Linked DNA regions of Homo sapiens: region 2 is linked to region 1. Evidence: promoter capture Hi-C in 16 types of primary human blood cells and fetal thymus (Javierre and others, 2016). All regions are on one chromosome and are shown on one strand. Each heading gives the region's core, a stretch centred on a gene start or on the middle of the fragment in contact. The rest is flanking DNA. Distances are from core to core; before and after follow the strand shown.

Region 1 (3,590 bases), core at 644-3,143:
AAGAGATATCATTTGTATGGAATTATCCATAAAATTAAAAGCCTAGCTCCTTTCACATAGCACATGTTTTCAACGTTCATCTCTACTGTGGCCTGGACTGGGATGTTATTCCTTTCTGTGGCTGAATAATAGCCATTATATGATTATACCACACTTTGTTTATCCATTTATTTATTAATAGACATTTGGATCTGCCATTGATAGACGTTTGGATCAGGCCATGTCCAGTGGCTCACACCTGCAATCCAAGCACTTTGGGAGGTCAAGGCAGGAGAATCGCTTAAGCCCAGGAGTTCCAAGAGCAGCCTGAGAAACAAAGTGAAATCCTACTCTCTACAGAAAAATTAAAAAATACCGTTTGGCTACTGTGAACAGTGCTGCTATGCACATTTGATGTCCAAGGATTTGTTTGAATCCTTTTCCATTCTTTTGGGTGTATACCTAGGAGTGAAATTGCTGAGTCCTTTGATAATTTCTATGTTAACTTTTTGATAAACTGTCAAACCATTTTGTGTGTTTTTAAAATGCAGATCTGATTCTCCCGTAGATATCTTTCCGTAACTTGGTTTTTCACTCAGCGTCTTAGAGTGAACTCTGTGTGAGTTTATGCAGACCAAAGTTTCTCAGTCTTGGCAATGTCGACATTTTTGTGTTGACAAAATGGCTGGAGTGCCGTGGCTACTCACAGGGGCAATCATAATGCATCGTTATATATAGTAGTATATAGTCCCATTTATATGAAATGTCTAGAATAGGTAAGTCCATAGAGCCAGAGCCAGAAAACAAATTGGTGGTTTTGAAGGACTGGGTGGGGTAGGGGAGTGGCTGCTAATGGGTATTAGGTGATGAAAACATTTTGGAACTAGACAGAGGCGGCGGCCACACAACATTGTGAATGCATTCAATCCCAGGGAATTGTATACTTTAAAGTGGTTGATTATTTTATGTGAATTTCACCTCAAAAGCAGAACGAAGCGAAAGCAACAATAATGCACAACAGAACTCTGATTTTATGGGTTTGCATTGTTTTCACATCCTACATGCTCATGAAGATCTGAAGGGATACCCATTAAATTCACCGTCACGATTGCCTGGCTGGCCATTGCATGGTTTGCTGCTTTGTATGTAGCATTTCAATTACATAATAAGAAGAAACAGGCCAGGCATGGTGGCTCACAGCTGTAATCCCAGCACTTTGAGAGGTCAAGGTGGGAGGATCCCTTGAGCCAAGGAGCTCAAGACCAGCCTGGGCAACAAAGCGAGACCCCATCTCTACAGAAAAATTAAAACTTAGCCCAGGTGTGGTGGCAAGCACCTTTACTCCCAGCTGCTCAGGAGGCTGAGGCAGGAGAATCATTTGAGCCTGGGAGGTTGAGGCTGCAGTGAGCCATAATCACACCACTGCACTCCAGCCTGGGCAACAGAGCTAGACCCTGTCTCAAAAAATAAAAATAAAAACAAATACGTGTGTGTGTGTTGGTTTTAAAAAATTATTTTAAAGGACATTTAGTTGGGCAAATGACCCAGTTGGAGAAGAATGAAGGTGACGGGGCATATCAAGGCAGCCTCTGCAGTCCCTGGGGGCAATGGCAGGGCTGCCCTCCTGTCAATTTCAACAGTCATGGGCCCAAACCCCAAATCTGTAGAGCACTAGACTCTGCTCAAGCTCTTGACAAGCTCAGGGAATTGACTCACCCCTGGCAGGCGGGGGGAATGGGAAAGTGAGGATACAGATTCCCTGAGGTTGCCTCCTCTCTGGCAGGGTCCCTGGGGTCCCAGCATCCCTGTAGCGGAGACAGAGACAGTAGGACCACAGCGAGGGAAGCCGGTGGGCAGGGAGTCAGGGAGGGATAAATAATCGCATTTGGGCTCAGTCAAGCCCCCGGCTCAGCTGGTGTGGCTGCTTGGTGCAGCCCACACCTGGTCAGCTCCCACCTGTGGAGAAACTCCAAACTAGAGCCTCCTACTGGGATGAAGCAGAAGCAGATGCCTGGAGTCCCAGGTGAGTCACCTCCCCTCTCAGCCACCTGACCAGGAGAGACCTGGGGAACCAGCACCTGCCAGGGACTCCAAGAAACCACCTGTTTATATTACTCCTTTAGCAATGTGAGTCTACAGGGCAGTGGGTGACAGGCAGAGGCCACTCACCACGTCTTAGTCAGTGTGCTGTTTGCTTAGCAGGACTTACCTTCTTCTATTTTTTTTTTTTTTTTTTTGAGACGGAATCTCGCTCTGTAGCCCAGGCTGGAGTGCAGTGGCGCAATCTCGGCTCACTGCAACCTCCGCCTGCCAGGTTCAAGCGATTCTTCTCCCTCAGCCTCCTGAGTAGCTGGGACTACAGGTGCGTGCCACCATGCCTGGCTAATTTTTTGTATTTTTAGTAGAGACAGGGGTTTCACCATGCTGGACAGGCTGGTCTTGAACTCCTGATCTCGTGATCCACCCGCCTCGGCTTCCCAAAGTACTGGGATTACAGGCATGAGCCATCGTGCCCAGCCAGGACTTGCCTTCTTTAGAGCTCCTGCTGCCTCATGAGGTAGGTCCCTTGGATGGGGGAGGTAACAGGTGCAGAGAGAAGACAGCCAATGCTCAATGTGACCCAAGGTGATGGTTTGATTTTAACCTCTCTTCTCGGTCTGTCCAGGCAAGAAGTCTACGGAAAAAGGATTGGGAAGAGGCGGAGAAAAGAGAGAAAGAGGATTCAGGGTTCAGAAGCTCCAGCCACCACCCCAGGGTGTAAAGAATCAGGGTGGGCCGGGTGCAGTGGCTCATGCCTGCAATCCCAGCACTTTGGGAGGCCAAGGTGGGAGGATCACTTGAGTCCAAGAGTTTGAGGCCAGCCTGGGCAGCATAGTGAGACCCTGTCTGTACAAAAAAATACAAAAATTGGCCAGGAATGGCAGGCACCTGTAGCTACTCCAGAGATTGAGGTGGGAGGATTGCTTGAGCCCAGGAAGTTAAGGCTGCAGTGAGCTGTGATTGTGCCTCTGCACTCCAGCCTGGGTGACAGAGGGATACCCTGTCTCTCTCTCTCTCTCTCTCTCTCTCTCTCTCTCTCTCTCTCTCTCTCTCTCTCACACACACACACACACACACACACACACACACACAAGGGAGGCGTCAATGGGAGCAGGTGGTGAGGGAATGGTTAGGAGCTGGGGATGAGAAGATGGAGAGAAAAGAGAGGGAAGTGGTGGCTTAAGTGGAAGAGAGGGGAGGCCAGACAGCTTCACTAAGAAGAGAGAGCCAGGATGGGTGAGAGTTAAGGCCAGATGGGGTCTCAGAGACAAGACAGGCCTGGCCCATGGAGTGATGCTGTCACCCAGGAGACACGTGACAACGTATAAGGACATTTCTGATTGTCGTGACTGGGGAGTGCTGCTGGTATCTATCTGGTGGGTGGAGACCAAGAATGCTGCTCAGTCTCCTGCAGTGCACAGGACACCCCTCTGAGAGAGAATGATTCGCCCCTAGCGTCCCTAATGCTGAAGGCAGGAAACCCTGCTCTAGGGATGTCTGTGGCAGGACTTGTCCACAGCCACGCTTAGCCCTAGAGTCTCTGAGTGGAGAACTGGCCCCACCGGGTGTTC
Region 2 (3,590 bases), core at 758-3,257, 220 kb before region 1:
TGAGACCAGCCCTGGCAACATAGTGAGACCCTGACTCTAAAAAAATAAAAAAAATTAGTCGGGCGTGGTGGTGTGCATCCTCGCAGCTACTTGGGAGGCTGAAGTGGGAAGACGGTTTGAGTCCAGGAATTTGAGGCTGCAGTGAGCTGTGATTGCGCCACTGCACTCCAGCCTGGGCAACAGAGCAAGACCCTGATACACACACACACAAAGTTAAAAAAGTAGAAAGGATCGTTATCTTTTTGCTTTTGAAGTTATTGGGGTCCCATTAAACTCATATGCTTCTTGGGCATGTACAGGCATTCTTGCCAACAGAGAACATCTAACCCACAAAAACTTTCCAACGTGATGACACCGTGGGGGGGATTCTGGAGCCAACAGTGAATCCAGGTGGCACTATGTCTAGCTAAGTAGACATTTCCTTCAAGCGTTCATTGATTTTGATTTTGCAGCCTTGCTTTTACGTTGTCAAATATCAAAGTGTGTGGTTTTACAGTTTTTTTTTCCTTCCAGGTCTTTAACGTTTTCGGGGACCTCTGGAAAACCTACAGGCGCGGCCCTGGGAAGCTCTGGGTCCCTAGGAGGGGAGGTGACTCCGCGGCGTCCCGGGAATGATCCTCGCGGAGCTCGCGAGGTACTAGCGCCCCCCAGCGTCTGGATTGAGAAACGCACCCTGCGAGGGTGGAGAACCAGCCCAGCCCCAAAGTGAGGTGGCAGAAAAACGAACTCACGGCCAAGGACTGGCTGAGGTTAGCCAGAATTGTGTAAATGTGTTTTGTCTTGCTGGGCTGCCCCCTCTCCTGGTCCTTTGGCTAGGGAGAACAGGATTTTGTTTGGGATTTTTCTTTTGCTTTTTTCGACTGTGCCTGTTGGCGTTCGCGGGTTGCCAGCTTCTTCAGGTCCAAGCCTGGGCTGTATGTGGCGAAAAACAAAACAAAACACCAAAGAATTGACTTTCGTGTCATTCCTTGGGTCCTGAAATTCCCACTGTGTCTGCCTTCCCTCCATCATTCAGAGTCTTACATTTTTCTAGTTTGATCCAATTTCCCAATCACTTTTTATTTTGACAAAGTTGTAAATATGATGCATAGAACATGTTTTGACATAGGCGTACAGCGTAAAATATCTAAATCAAGCTAATTTAACATTTCCTTGACATACCCGTGACCATACCTCCATGCTTATCTCTTTTTCTGTGGTAAGAACACTTAAAATTTGCTCAGCAATTCAGTTTTTTTATATTGAAAAAAAAAAAAAAAAAAAAAGAGATGAGGTCTCACTATGTCGCCCAGGCTGGTCTCAAACACCTGGCCTCAAGTGATCCCCCTCAGTCTCCCAGCGTGCTAGGATTACAGGTGTGAGCCACTGCGCCCAGACTACTCAGCATTTTTCAAGAATAAAATACATTGACTAGAGTCACCATGTTGAACAATTCCTCTTGTGCCCTTTGGCCAATATCTGTTCAGTCCCTCCTCCCTCCCTCAGTCCCTGGAGCCACCATTCTACTTGGGAGTTCAGCTTTTTAGATTCCACAAGTGAGACAGGAAGTATTTGTTTTTCTGTGCCTGGCTTATTTCACTGAACGTCTTCCGGGTTCATCCACGTAAACACAAGCTTTGTTTTTAAAGGCTGAATCTTATTCAGAGTCTTATGTTTTTATGTATGATGTCTGGCCCAGGGTTTTAGTTGTGCTTCGTGGGAGGAATGGGAAAAATTATGTATACCTTGTCCATTTGAATTTGAGAAATGTGCATGATTACACGATCACGTTTTGATCATATGCATGGAATCACAACATATGTATTTTGGTCAACAGCTTCTTATTTCCTTTGTTCTGCCTTCCTCCCTCCCCTCCTCCACGTCCAGTTCTCTCCATCTTTCAAATTCAGGCTCACTCCTTCTCCCATGGATTACTCCAATTGTTCCCCCTTTTTATCGCTATTGGTCATGTCTGGACTTGGAATAAACCCTTTCTGTCCACATGGGCCCTGTCTGCCTGCTGACCTTCCTCTCACTCCTGGCCTCAACATCATCATTCATTCATCAAACACTAAGTGTCTCATTTTGGGGGCACCCCTGAACCTGTGATCCCTCGGAGTTGACCGGGCAAGAAGATCTCCTTACGAAGCAGAGACAGCAAGTGGCGGGGGTGGGGGTGGGGGGGCCCAGTTGGCACAGGATTAAAATACAAGGGCACCCAACCTCACCAGTCATGAGGAACAAGAAGCCACCATGAGGCATTTCAAACCCAACACCCAACATAAATGAAAAGTCTGGCAACACCAGCAGTTTTGGAGGCAGGTAGAAACCCTCAATGGTGGGAGAGCACATTGGTGAAATCACTGTGAAGAATGTGGAAATACCTGGAAATGTTGAAAACGTCCAGATTCTGAAGCTTAGCCTCTCCCCACTTGGCTTTATACCCTAGTGAGCTCCATGGAACTTAAGAAAATGGCTTTGGTCTGGGGCCAAACCCATTTTCTTAGATGGGTTGACTTAAGAAGATGGGCCCTTGTCTGTGGGTAGATGGTCACGGGGGACCGGGTCAGTGGTGGCTTGGTCACTGGGGGGGACTGATCAGTGGGACCCAGTCTGCAGGGCTTGGTCAGCACAGAACACGATCAGTCCGGCTTAGTCAACAGGACCTGGTGGGTGGGGACCTGGTGAGTGGGGGCCTGGTTAGTGGGGACTTAGTAAGGACGAGGTCAGCTGGCTGCTGGGTGACCTCAGGCAGGGGGTTTGTCCTAGAAGCCTCCTTTCTTCCATTTGTAGGGGAGATGAAATCAACTGCACCCCAGAGAGCTACTGGGAGGAGGAGAAGTGCATTGAATATGGCCCTGCTATGCAGATTTAGTACCGTATACACTGAGTCCCTCCCGAGGGAGGGGGTTTCACCCACGGCACTGCCCTGCCCTGCCTGCATCCCCAGGACCACCCTGCCTGAAGGCAGAGGCTGGGGCGCACCTGTGGATGCTCTGATGCTGACCACAGGCCCTGGGGTGACAGTGATGAGGACATGGGGGCACACGTGATTGGGGAAGCCAGGGCCGGCCGGAGGAGAGACACACGCTCACACGCACCCGCACATATCCACCTGCACTCAAGTGCACAGACGCATTGCACGCACACGTCGACAGTTCAGGAGGGGCAGAGGATGCCGTCTCTGGGCCCTGCTGACCCATGCAGGGCTCCGTTGTGATGGGTGCCGTGAGCCCACAATGTCACCATTACCCAACACCCAGGTACCTGCCCGGCTCTGTGTCGTAGAGCAGTTGGAGACACAGTGTGAGTGGGTTCTGCCCAAAGGACGCTTTTCTCTTTTCTAGGTGAGAGGCACATCTCTGCACGGCTGCTTGATCAGACTTAGGAGAGCGTGACCTGCTCTCTTCCCTCCCTGCTGACTTGGGGACAGTCGCTACTGGGTGGGCGGCAGCTGCCCGAGGAGGGTCATCCTCGAGTGCTCACTGGGTGCCCGTTCTGTGCTGACCAGGCAGACAGTCATCCTGTTCATCCTCACAGTGACTCTGTTCCAGGAACATGCCAGGAAGACCCCCAGCCCCACTCCCCAGGACAGACCTGGACTGGCCCAG

Evidence for each region. Contacts are between HindIII fragments. The CHiCAGO score rates a contact against its expected background, and 5 or more counts as called.
Region 2: a contact is called between a fragment that was not itself captured here and the fragment with the promoter of OR10H1 in region 1, in 2 of 17 cell types (naive CD8 T cells and naive CD4 T cells). The highest score is 5.5, in naive CD8 T cells.

What each region holds. Positions count from the first base shown.
Region 1 is chr19:15,813,967-15,817,556 of GRCh38, reverse strand. OR10H1 (olfactory receptor family 10 subfamily H member 1) reads left to right here and starts at 1,893. Exons shown (of 4, transcript NM_013940.4): 1 at 1,893-2,002. The HindIII fragment of the contact is 16,264 bases long and covers 1-3,590 here.
Region 2 is chr19:16,038,761-16,042,350 of GRCh38, reverse strand. It overlaps LINC00905 (long intergenic non-protein coding RNA 905), which reads right to left. Exons shown (of 5, transcript NR_024335.2): 5 at 216-912. Among named protein-coding and RNA genes, the nearest start is that of LINC00905, 6.8 kb to the right of the region's middle. The HindIII fragment of the contact is 781 bases long and covers 1,617-2,397 here.